3 separate regions of the Homo sapiens genome follow, and regions 1 and 3 are each linked to region 2. Evidence: promoter capture Hi-C in human tissues and cell types (Jung and others, 2019). All regions are on one chromosome and are shown on one strand. The core of a region is centred on a gene start or on the middle of the fragment in contact, and the rest is flanking DNA. Distances in the headings are between cores, read along the strand shown. Region 1 has its middle 13 kb from the start of BHLHA9. Region 2 holds the start of SMYD4 (SET and MYND domain containing 4). Region 3 holds the start of MNT (MAX network transcriptional repressor).

Region 1 (3,341 bases), core at 666-3,165, 570 kb before region 2:
GCAGGTGTGAGTCTATTCAGTCAATTTCCACACAAGCAGGAGGTATTTCATTCCTGGCAGCTCCAGCAAAATTCTCTGGGTATCTTACTGGCTCTGACTGGCAACTGCCTGTCCCTGAACCATGTGCTGTGGCCAAGAGGGGAGTCTCCGACAGGCATAAGCCAATCCCATTCGAAGTGCTGAGGACAAAGGAATGGAGATGCTCCAACAGAAAAGGGAGTTGTTTTTTTTTTTTTTTTTTTTTTTTTTGGACAGGGTCTCACTCTGTCGCCCAGGCTGGAGTGCAATGGCACGATCTCAGCTCACTGCAAGCTCCGCCTCCCGGGTTCAAGCGATTCTCCTGCCTCAGCCTCCTGAGTAGCTGGGGCTACAGGTGCCCACCACCATGCCCGGCTACTTTTTGTATTTTTAGTAGATATGGGGTTTCACCATGTTGGTCAGGCTGGTCTTGAACTCCTGACCTCAGGTGATCCACCCGCCTCAGCCTCCCAAAATTGCTGGGATTACAGGCGTGAGCCACCGCACCCGGCCAAGAGAGATCACTTTAGTGAGAGAACGGAGGGTGGACGCCAGGAAAACAAGCAGAAATGGAAACCACACCGGCCAGCTCCTGGCGGGTGGAGGTGCTGGGTGGGAGCAGTTTCCTTCCTGGCTTCTTTCTCCGGCGCTCACTGCAGCAGCTTCAAGGGTGAGAGTTGGAGGCCACAGAGCCGGGGCCCATCCGGCTGTATGTGTGCGGGTGGGGGTCGGGGGACAAAGGCTGACGCCCCATGCTCACCAGTCCACCCCTCGCCAAGCTTCCCCGGCTGCCCAGCACTTCCTTCTTCCTTTCCCTCACCTGCCAGACTCCTATCTCTGAGGCAGTTCTGATCTCTTTGATCATGTTCACCTGCCTCAATTTCATGCACATGAGGGAAATTTTTCTGACTCCTTGTAGGCCTGAAACCCCTTTTTTAATTCTACTTTTTTTTTTTTTTTTTTTGATGGAGTCTTGCTCTGTCATCCAGGCTGGAGTGCAGTGGCACGATCTTGGCTCACTGCAACCTCCACCTCCCAGGTTCAAGCAATTCTCCTGCCTCAGCCTCCCAAGTAGCTGGGATTACAGGAATGCACCACCGAACCCGGCGAATTTTGTATTTTTAGCAGAGACGGGTTTTTGCCATGTTGGTCAGGCTGGTCTTGAACTCCTGACCTCAGGTGATCCACCCGCCTCGGCCTCCCAAAGTGCTGGGATTACAGGCATGAGCCACCGCGTGCGGCCTATTTCTACTTTTTAGAGACTGGGTCTCGCTTTGTCGCCCAGGCTAGAGTGCAGTGACGTGATCTTTGCTTACTGCAGCCTCAAACTCCTGGGCTCAAGGGATCCTCCCACCTCAACCTCCTGAGTAGCTGGGACTACAGATGCATACCACCACCCCCAGCTAATTTTTTAATTTTTCGTAGAGACAGGGTTTCTTAATAATAATGATATGACAATATTGATTCGTTAATTGTAATAAATGTACTACAGTAATGTGATATGTTAATAACAAGGAAATGGGTTCAGGATACATGGGGGACTCTTGGTATTCGCTTCTCAGTTTTTCTGTACATCTTTTTTTTTTCTTTCTTTCTCTTTTGAGGCAAAGTTTCACTCTTGTCCCCCAGGCTGGATTGCAATGACACAGTCTCCACTGACTGCAACCTCCACCTCCTGGATTTATGCGATTCTCCTGCCTCAGCCTCCCAAGTAGCTGGGATTACAGGTGTGTGCCACCACATCTGGCTACTTTTTGTATTTTTAGTAAAGACGGGGTTTCACCATGTTCGCCAGGCTGGTTTCAAACTCCTGACCTCCAGTGATCCACCCACCTCAGGCTCCCAAAGTGCTGAGATTACAGGCAGGAGCCACTCGCTCGGCCTAGTTTTTCTGTACATCTAAAATCATTCTAAAAAATAACGTTCATTAAAGCACAAAAAATGGGTGGCCGGTCGCGGCGACTCACGTCTGTAATCCCAGCACTTTGGGAGGCGGAGGTGGGTGGATCACGAGGTCAGAAGTTCGAGACCAACTTGGCCAACATGGTGAAATCCCATCTCTACTGAAAATACAAAAAATTAGCCGGGCTTGGTGGCGCATGCCTGCAATCCCAGCTGCTCGGGAGGCTGAGGTGGAAGGATTGCTTGAGCCCAGGAGGTCGAGGCTGCAGTGAGCTGTGATTATGCTACTGCCTCCCAGCCTCAGTGACAGAATAAGACCCTGTCTCAAAAAGCAAAAACAAAAAACAAAAAAACACCCCCCAAAAACCCATGAAAGATCAAAAAGCAACTGGAGAGAGGGAATAATAGCTAGCGGCTCAAAGTGTACCTTCTGTGAGGGTGGGAGTGGAGATGCTTCCCCCACCGCCCCAGCAGCAGGGTTATCTTCAGACAGCAGGACGTGCAAATGGGTGCAGACAGATCTCTTTGTGGGCCCAGGCAGGAAGCTGAGGGTTCGCATCTGATGGTATCAATTTTTCCTCTGAGACAGGAGAGGTGGGCTACGTGCAATGAAACTGCGGGTTGTACATGATGAAGACCTGAAGGTCCTCCAAGAGAAGTGCAGGAAGAACCTGACCAGCGCAAAAGAGCAGCTTCCTCTCCCAGCACAGATGACAAGACATAAAACTTCAGCTTTTGCAGGGGCAGCCCCAGGTGGACAGCACCAAGCAGCAGGGCCTTAGCCCAACAAGAGGCCTGAACTGAGCGCTTCATGGGGTTCAACTTTTTTCTTTTTTTTTTGAGACGATGGAGTCTTGCTCTGTCGCCCAGGCTGGAGTGCAGTGACGTGATCTGGGCTCACTGCAACCTCCACCTCCCAGGTTCAAGCGATTCTCCTGGCTCAGCCTCCCAAGTGGCTGGGATTACAGGCGCCCGCCACCACGCCCGGCTAATTTTTGTATTTTGGTAGCGACGGGATTTCGCCATGTTGGCCAGGCTGGTCTCGAACTCCTGACCTCAAGAGATCCGCCCGCCCAGGCCTCCCAAAGTGCTGGGATTACAGGTGTGAGCCACCGCGCCCGGCCTGGAGTTCCACTTTCTGACCAGAAGAGGGCGCCGGGGTTCCACTTTTGTTCTTCACGCCCCACGTTTCTCTTTCCAAAGTTGCTAAGGTTTGGAGTCTAGGAATAAAAAGTTCCCTTCTGAGTCCGCCACAATGATGGCGGGAGGCGGTGGGAGGGTGGGCGATGGTTTTGTTCCTTTGCTCGTTCACCCCGGTGGGGAGCCGGGGAGCCAGGGAGCAGAGTGTGGGAACTGGGTGGAGATGTCTGCGGAACGGTCACCCGGACACGGGAACACGGCTCTGAACGTCGGGAGAGAAG
Region 2 (3,412 bases), core at 289-2,788:
AAAGGAAAATCAAGATTTCATTCAAGGAAGCCTGAAACAATAAAATCAATTCTTGTGGTCTTTTCCTCTAGTTTATATGCTAAGGAAGGATCTATATTTTCTCACAGCAATTCACTCAACATCCTTCCATTCAGAAATATTTACTGAAAGACTACTTTGTCACAGGCACCATGCAGGTGATGGTTATACAAAGACGAAGCAGACTAGATAGCTACCATCTGTGCTCTTAGATCCTCTTTTTTTTTTTTTTGTGAGGCAGAGTCTTGCTCTGTCACCCAGGCTGGAGTGCAGTGGCACCATCTCGGCTCACTGCACCCTCCGCCTCCCAGGTTCAAGCAATTCTCCTGCCTCAGCCTCCGAGTAGCTGGGATTACAGATGCGCGCAACTACGCCCGGCTAATTTTTGTATTTTTAGTAGAGACGGGGTTTCACCATGTTGGCCAGGCTGGTCTCGAACTCCTGACCTCAGATGATCCGCCAGCCTTGGCCTCCCAAAGCGCTGGGATTACAGGCGTGAGCCACCGCGCCCGGCCTGATCCCTCTCTAGTTTCTCTGAGACACATCCCAGATTTTTCTTTCTCACCCACCCCAGCAACTATTCATTTAACAAGGTATTTCCCTCTCTTACATAGTTCAGCGTTCTGATTAAGTCCTCACCATCTCGTCTGGCATTCTTCCTAGAGTGTTATAATTAATGTCCATGCCATTGGCACCACTCCCCACTTTCAATCCAGCCTCCAACACTGAGACAGAAGTCAGTGCTCTGCCCTTAAATTCATCAACGCTACTCCAAGCATACCAGGAAGCCCAGGACAAAACCATCCTTACTTGACCCTTGTCTGACTTTCTAATTCTCAGGTGTCACTTACTCCTCTGCATGCACCCTTGCATACTGAACAACTCATTGCTATCCCCGGCTTGCCAGGCTATTTCAACTCTCCAATGTTTTGGCATAGGCTACTCATGCTTTCCGGACCAACCCTACCCTGGCTTATGGAGTCCACCTGGAAAATTCCCACACGTTCTTCGACTCGGCTCAAATGGCACCTCCTCCGGGACGGCGTCCCTGATTTCCCAGCTGTGATTCCAACACCCTTGGGGCCTGTACCACGTCTACCTGGAGGTGGGGTTACTGACGGCATAAAGTGCCCCCACACACTGTCCTCTTCTCTAAGGACGGGGGCCGGGTCTGATTCCCTTTCGGAGACCCCCCACCCCCACCCCCCACCGCCACGGTGCCAAGCTCAGGGCTTGGAGGCGGGAAGTCAGCCCCGCGTTGCTGGACGAATCGGGTCACTACTGCGACTCTATTTAGCAGCGGAGGTCTCAAGGAACAGCTTTAACCTCCTCTGGGATACCAACCCGTGCACTCGCCAGAGACCGAGGCGAGAACGCCTCGAGAACCGCTCAGACGCGCCCGGAACTGCGCCCTGGTCTCCCTCCCAGCGCCCGCGCAGCTCCTGGCGCGCCCCTTGGCGCCCCGCTCCGCCCCGCACCGCGTCCGGCGTCCCGCGCCAGGCCTCGCTTGGGACCATGGGTGGGTCACGTGGGCCGCGCCTCGGCCAATGCGGCGGCTGCGTAGCGCCCGGGCCCGCCCCTGAGCCGCGCGCACGTCGGGGGCGGGAGCGGTGCGCGCAACTTCTCGGGCCAATAACTGCGCAGCGCGCGGGACCCGGGTGGGGAAGCTGGAGCTGTTGCGGGGTCCGCGGGGAAGTCTTGGCGGTGGAGCCATGGTCGGCCAACTGAGCGAGGGGGCCATTGCGGTGAGGAGGTGCCGGGGGCTGGGCCGGCGGTCCGGGGTGGCTGCGGCCCCGAGCCTCGCGGAGTAGAGAGGGGGAGGGGAGCCCGGGGCGACGGGGGATGAACGCGAGGGGAGGAGATGGCGGGGGGCGGTGGGGACCCGCCGGGCGTCCCTCTAGTGTCATCGCCCCCTCCTCAAAGCATTCTTTCGATCGTCTTTAAAACATGCTCACATTTTTCCTACGTAAGAACAAACTAAATAAACGCTTGCCTTTCTCTGCATCTTCCACCTGCGGACACTTTCTGTCTCTTCTCCTTTCCCCACCCACAGCCAAACTTCTTGTCTGGTTTCAGCCACTTCCTTTCCTCGCCTTTCATCAACTCTTTAACCCACTCCAGTCATCCCTTTGATCGCTGTAGAAAACCCTGGCTGAAGGTACCAGTGGCCTCCAAGTTGCTAAATCCAGCCCTTTTCCGTTTTCAGCTTACCTGAGTTCTCAGCAGCGTTTGCGTTTAAGCCCTGCTTGCTTCAGGTCACACCCTCTTCCTTGGTTTTTAGTGGCTCAGCTTGGCAGGTCTATCCCCGTCTTATTTGTAAGTCCCTCTTTGTAAATTTTTGTTGAATCAAGGCTCCCTCTAGGCCCTCTTGACTCCCGAGGCAATTTCTTTTTTTTTCTCCAGCCTGGGCGACACTCACTGTCGCCCAGGCTGGAGTGCAGAGGCGCGATCTCGGCTCACTGCAACCTCCGTCTCCCGGGTGCAAGTGAGTCTCCTGTCTCAGCCTCCCGAGTAGCTGGGACTACATGTGTGCGCCACCACACTCGGCTACTTTTTGTGTTTTTATTAGAGACTGGGTTTCATCATGTTGGCCAGGCTGATCTCGAACACCAGACCTCAAGTTATCCGCCCGCCTCGGCCTCCCAAAATGCTGGAATTACAGGCATGAACCACCGCGCCTGGCCCCAAGGCAATTCCATTGCCATCTATTAATATATGTCAGTTGCTCACAAATTTCTTTGTACAGAGCCACCTTTACTCTAAAAGACAAACTTCCGTCATCTGTCTGCTTATTCCATGCTTCAGAGGGTTTTAAGTTCAGTATACGTATCCCAAAGCAAATTCTTTATCTTTCTAAGTCTGGGCCTCTTGATCCCTATCTCCACGGATGGCACCATTATCTATTCAGTTCAGTGCTAACCAGAAATTGAGAAATCATTCCTCCTATATTGTCCATTACCTGGGCATCCAGTCCCTCACGAAGTGAAGTGTATTTTGCCTCTGCGTAGATCTATCAAGCCCACTGGCTTCTCTCCATCCATACTGGCACCGTCTTTTTTTTTGCCTGAGCTGCTGACTTCCACTCAGCATACGTTCCTGCCACCATTCCCATCCACAGCATACTCTCAGCCTACCTCTCCAGTCACCCCCACATTTTTTTTTAAATTTAGATTTCTGGTATATTCCATACTCCTACCTTCTTCCATGGGGCCTTTGAACTTTTTTTTTTTTTTTTGAGCTGGAATCTTGCTCTGTTGCCCAGGCTGGAGGGCAGTGGCGCGATCTCGGCTCACTGCAAGCTCTGCCTCCTGGGTTCACGCCATTCTCCTGTCTCAGCCTCCCGAATAGCTGGGACTACAGGTACCCGCCACCACGCCCGGCTAATTTTTTGTAT
Region 3 (3,202 bases), core at 428-2,927, 570 kb after region 2:
TCATTCCAGCGTGGCCCCGGCTGATGCCAGGGGGCATAGTTGGAACGTTTTGGGGGTCAGTGGAAAAATGTGAGCTCTAAATGTCTCGTCGCCCTGCGATTCTGAGGGTTTCCCTTGCCTCGGGATCAAACACAGGAGGTTAGGGGCCAGAGCCGACAGGTGAGCTCGGCTCCTCCCTCGCAGGGCAAAGGCTCTCCCTGGGAGGTGCCCAGAGGCCGGGGCCCGGGCCCAGGCCCAACCCAGCGCAAGGCCCCTTGCCAGCCCCGCCCAGGCCCCGCCCCCGGCCGAGCGCGAGGCGGTGAGGAGGGGCCGGGCCGCGCCGTCCCCAGCAGGAGTGTCCCCGGTGCACGTGGTCGGGGGCGGAGCCCGTCCACGTCACCACCCGGTGTAACCAACGGGCTCGGAACGCAGGCACACGCAACATTCCAGGCGAGAGCGGGTTTGGAACGCGCAGACACGCCACATTCCACACTGGCTAAAGCGGGGCGCAGCGAGGGGGGCCCGGGGGCTGACCCCCAGCGACCCGCGGGCCATTTCGCAAACGCCCAATTAGCCCGGCTTTCACCCAAACCCCGGACGCGCAGCCCAGCCCAGCTCTGGGAGGCGGGGTCAGGCGGGGCTGGCCAGGATCATAAGACACGCGATGTCATTTCATTCTGCAAAGGCCGCCTCCGCCCCAAGCGGCGCGTAGATCTGCCGGGAGCGCCCCCCGCACCCTCCCCACGGGGCCAGGGAAGCCGAAGAGCTGCTCCGCGTAGAGTAGTCCCCACCCCCACTCCGTTACACACACGCCCACTCGTGTGCTATACACACGCCCGTGTACACGTCCGTTCATCTGCTCTTCCCGAGGCTCACATCACACATCCCCCGTGCACACACGCACGCACACGCGAGCCTGCCACCCCCACGCAACACCATTCCTCACCCCACCCCCCGGCTCACACATCCTCAGTGCCACCGAGGGCTCCGCTGGCCCACGCAAAAGCAGCCCACCACAGAAGGGGCACAGGGGTGCCACGCAGCCGGGGTGGCGCCCGCAGGAGCCAGGTCCCTCGCAGCATGTTAATGAATTCATTAATTAATTTCACTGCCCACATCACCCCTCCCCAGGCGGCGGCTCTCGCGGGGAGCCGTGCGCTGCCAGGCTCCGCAGGCCGCCCGGGAGGGGGCCCTGTCCGCGGTTTCGCGTGGGTTCGGGGACCGGGGTCACTCGCTTCCCCTTCCCCAGTGCCCCAGGGGCCCAGCCCGGCCGCTCACCACGTGCTCTCTGTTGTTGCTGCGCTTGCCATTCCAGGAAGCGGGCCGCCTCCAGTAGCGTCTCTATGCTCATCGCGCCGAGAGCTGCCGGGGGCGCGCCGGGGCCGAGGCTGCGGCCCGCGAGCCGGGCACAGGTCAGGCTGGCGGGCAGGCAGGAGGGAGGGATCACCTCCGGGGGGCGACAGGGCTGGGCGGCGCAGCGCACTCCGCAGGGAAGAACGGGGGAGCACGGGGAGAAAAATCAATGTCTCTCAAAATATTTGCAAAATATAAAATTGCAAATTTAAAAAAATGGGATGCAAAAAAAAAAAAAAGGCGGCACTGCCTCCCTTCTTCCCCTCCCTCTCTACCTCCCTTCCGATGCCTCCCGCCCCGCGGCCCCCGGGAGTCCCGCCGACAAGAAAGGGCTTTGCAACAAGATGGCGAGGAGGCACCGACACACACAACAAGGGAAGGAGCCGCGCTGCCCCCGGCCGCCGCCCCCGCTACTACACCGGGGCCACAGCCAAAGCCCGGACCGGAGCCCCCGCCCGCAGGGCCGCGGCGTCTCGCGAAGGGAGGGGCGGGTCCTGCGCTGCTGGCCCCGCCCCCCGGATCCGGCGCGCGCACACGTGGCCCGGGCAGGGAGGGAGAGGTCCGAGCGGGGTGTGCGCGCCGCGGTTCCGCTTTCCTGCTGGCCCCGCCCCGGCTGCAAGCCACAAGTTGGGCCGGGGCGGTGCGTTTGGGTCGTTCACGACGAAATCTGTCCTGCTGGAGGGAGGGTAGGGTGAACAATTCAAGATTTAACAGAGTTCCAACCAGGATATTCCGGGTCAGGGAAACCTTGGGAATGGCAGAGACTGGCCTGACCCTGGGTCTCCACGCTCCACCCACTCGCGACCTAAATCCCGCAATCGCCGGGCTGTCGCAATTCCCCCGGGATCCGCCCCTGGGCGGAGCTGCCGGCGACTGGAGACTGTCAAGAGAACCAGCGGAGGGAGCGGAGCGGCAGTCCGGCTCCGCGTTTTGTCTCCGTTCCTCCCCCCGCAGTGCGTTCGCATCCTATTAGGGGACGTCACCGGGCCGCGAGCCAATGGGCGGGCAGGACAACACGGCATGGAGCAGCTCCACATGGACACCCCGCGCCGCCAGCCTTCGGTTTAAAGGGCCAGTGTCTGCAGGTCACATTCGCGGGTGCGGATGGGGCCACTGGGCGAACCCAGGGTGGGATGCCGTAAGGGGAATCCCGCAGTCGTGCCCTGGCCTCTCCATTCCTTTTCACCACCTTCCATTTAAAACCAGGCCTTTATCTTTCCTTCCCCTGAACTCCAGTCTTTGTCCACGCGTATTCGATGTGGGTGGAGATACGGACTGTGCCACCCCATGGGCCACCCTTTCCTCTGGGGCCGGGGCCAGGGCGGGGAACACGAAGCGCCCGCAGCCCAGACCGGGGGGCGTGGCCCAAATCGGGAACAACAACGTGGAGGGCGGAAGCCCGGCCCTCCCCGCGCCTGGCGACCGGCGGTGGGCGGGGCGCGGGGGCGGGGTCCGCTGCGGCCGGCTGGAACCGCGCTCCCCAGAGGGAGGGACCCCCCGTCGCCCGCCCGCCCGCCCGCGTCTTCCGGGCTCGAGTGTTTAGGGGAGCTCGGGTGCAATCGGAGAGTTAGCTCTTTGAGGCCGGCTGCCCTTAAATCCTCTCACTTCACACATAAGGAAACTGAGGCCGTGACGGCCAAGGACTCGCCTAAGGTCGTTCCGTATTCCACCTGCTCCTCTCTCCCGAAGCGGGGGCACTCTTCCCTGACCCCAGGGACGACTCTGAAGCCAGTTCTGGAGGAGGGCCCCCAATTAGAAAAATGCCAGGGAGGAATAGCAACCCTGACCACTTAACACACTGTGATTGGGGCAACAAAAATCTTCACCTGAGACCCAACTCCGCTGTTCTGCTTCCTCGGTGGAAGCCACA

The links. The method cuts DNA at HindIII sites, captures the fragments that hold promoters and counts their contacts. A contact is called where the count stands out against the background at its distance.
Region 1: a fragment that was not itself captured here is called in contact with the fragment with the promoter of SMYD4 in region 2 in 1 of the 25 tissues and cell types used here (heart right ventricle).
Region 3: a contact is called between the fragment with the promoter of MNT here and the fragment with the promoter of SMYD4 in region 2, in 1 of the 25 tissues and cell types used here (lymphoblastoid cells).

What each region holds. Positions count from the first base shown.
Region 1 is chr17:1,256,213-1,259,553 of GRCh38, forward strand. No RefSeq gene overlaps it. Among named protein-coding and RNA genes, the nearest start is that of BHLHA9, 13 kb to the right of the region's middle. The HindIII fragment of the contact is 4,603 bases long and covers 1-3,341 here.
Region 2 is chr17:1,828,364-1,831,775 of GRCh38, forward strand. It overlaps SMYD4 (SET and MYND domain containing 4), which reads right to left and starts at 1,539. Exons shown (of 11, transcript NM_052928.3): 1 at 1,363-1,539. RPA1 (replication protein A1) reads left to right here and starts at 1,642. Exons shown (of 17, transcript NM_002945.5): 1 at 1,642-1,763. The coding sequence starts at 1,731. RefSeq lists a silencer at 1,391-1,910 and an enhancer at 2,538-3,038. The HindIII fragment of the contact is 28,265 bases long and covers 1-3,412 here.
Region 3 is chr17:2,399,383-2,402,584 of GRCh38, forward strand. MNT (MAX network transcriptional repressor) reads right to left here and starts at 1,678. Exons shown (of 6, transcript NM_020310.3): 1 at 1,258-1,678. The coding sequence starts at 1,330. RefSeq lists enhancers at 1-362, 363-933, 2,224-2,273, 2,645-3,202 and silencers at 154-643, 1,164-1,223, 1,374-1,453, 1,644-1,953, 2,604-2,923. The HindIII fragment of the contact is 14,706 bases long and covers 1-3,202 here.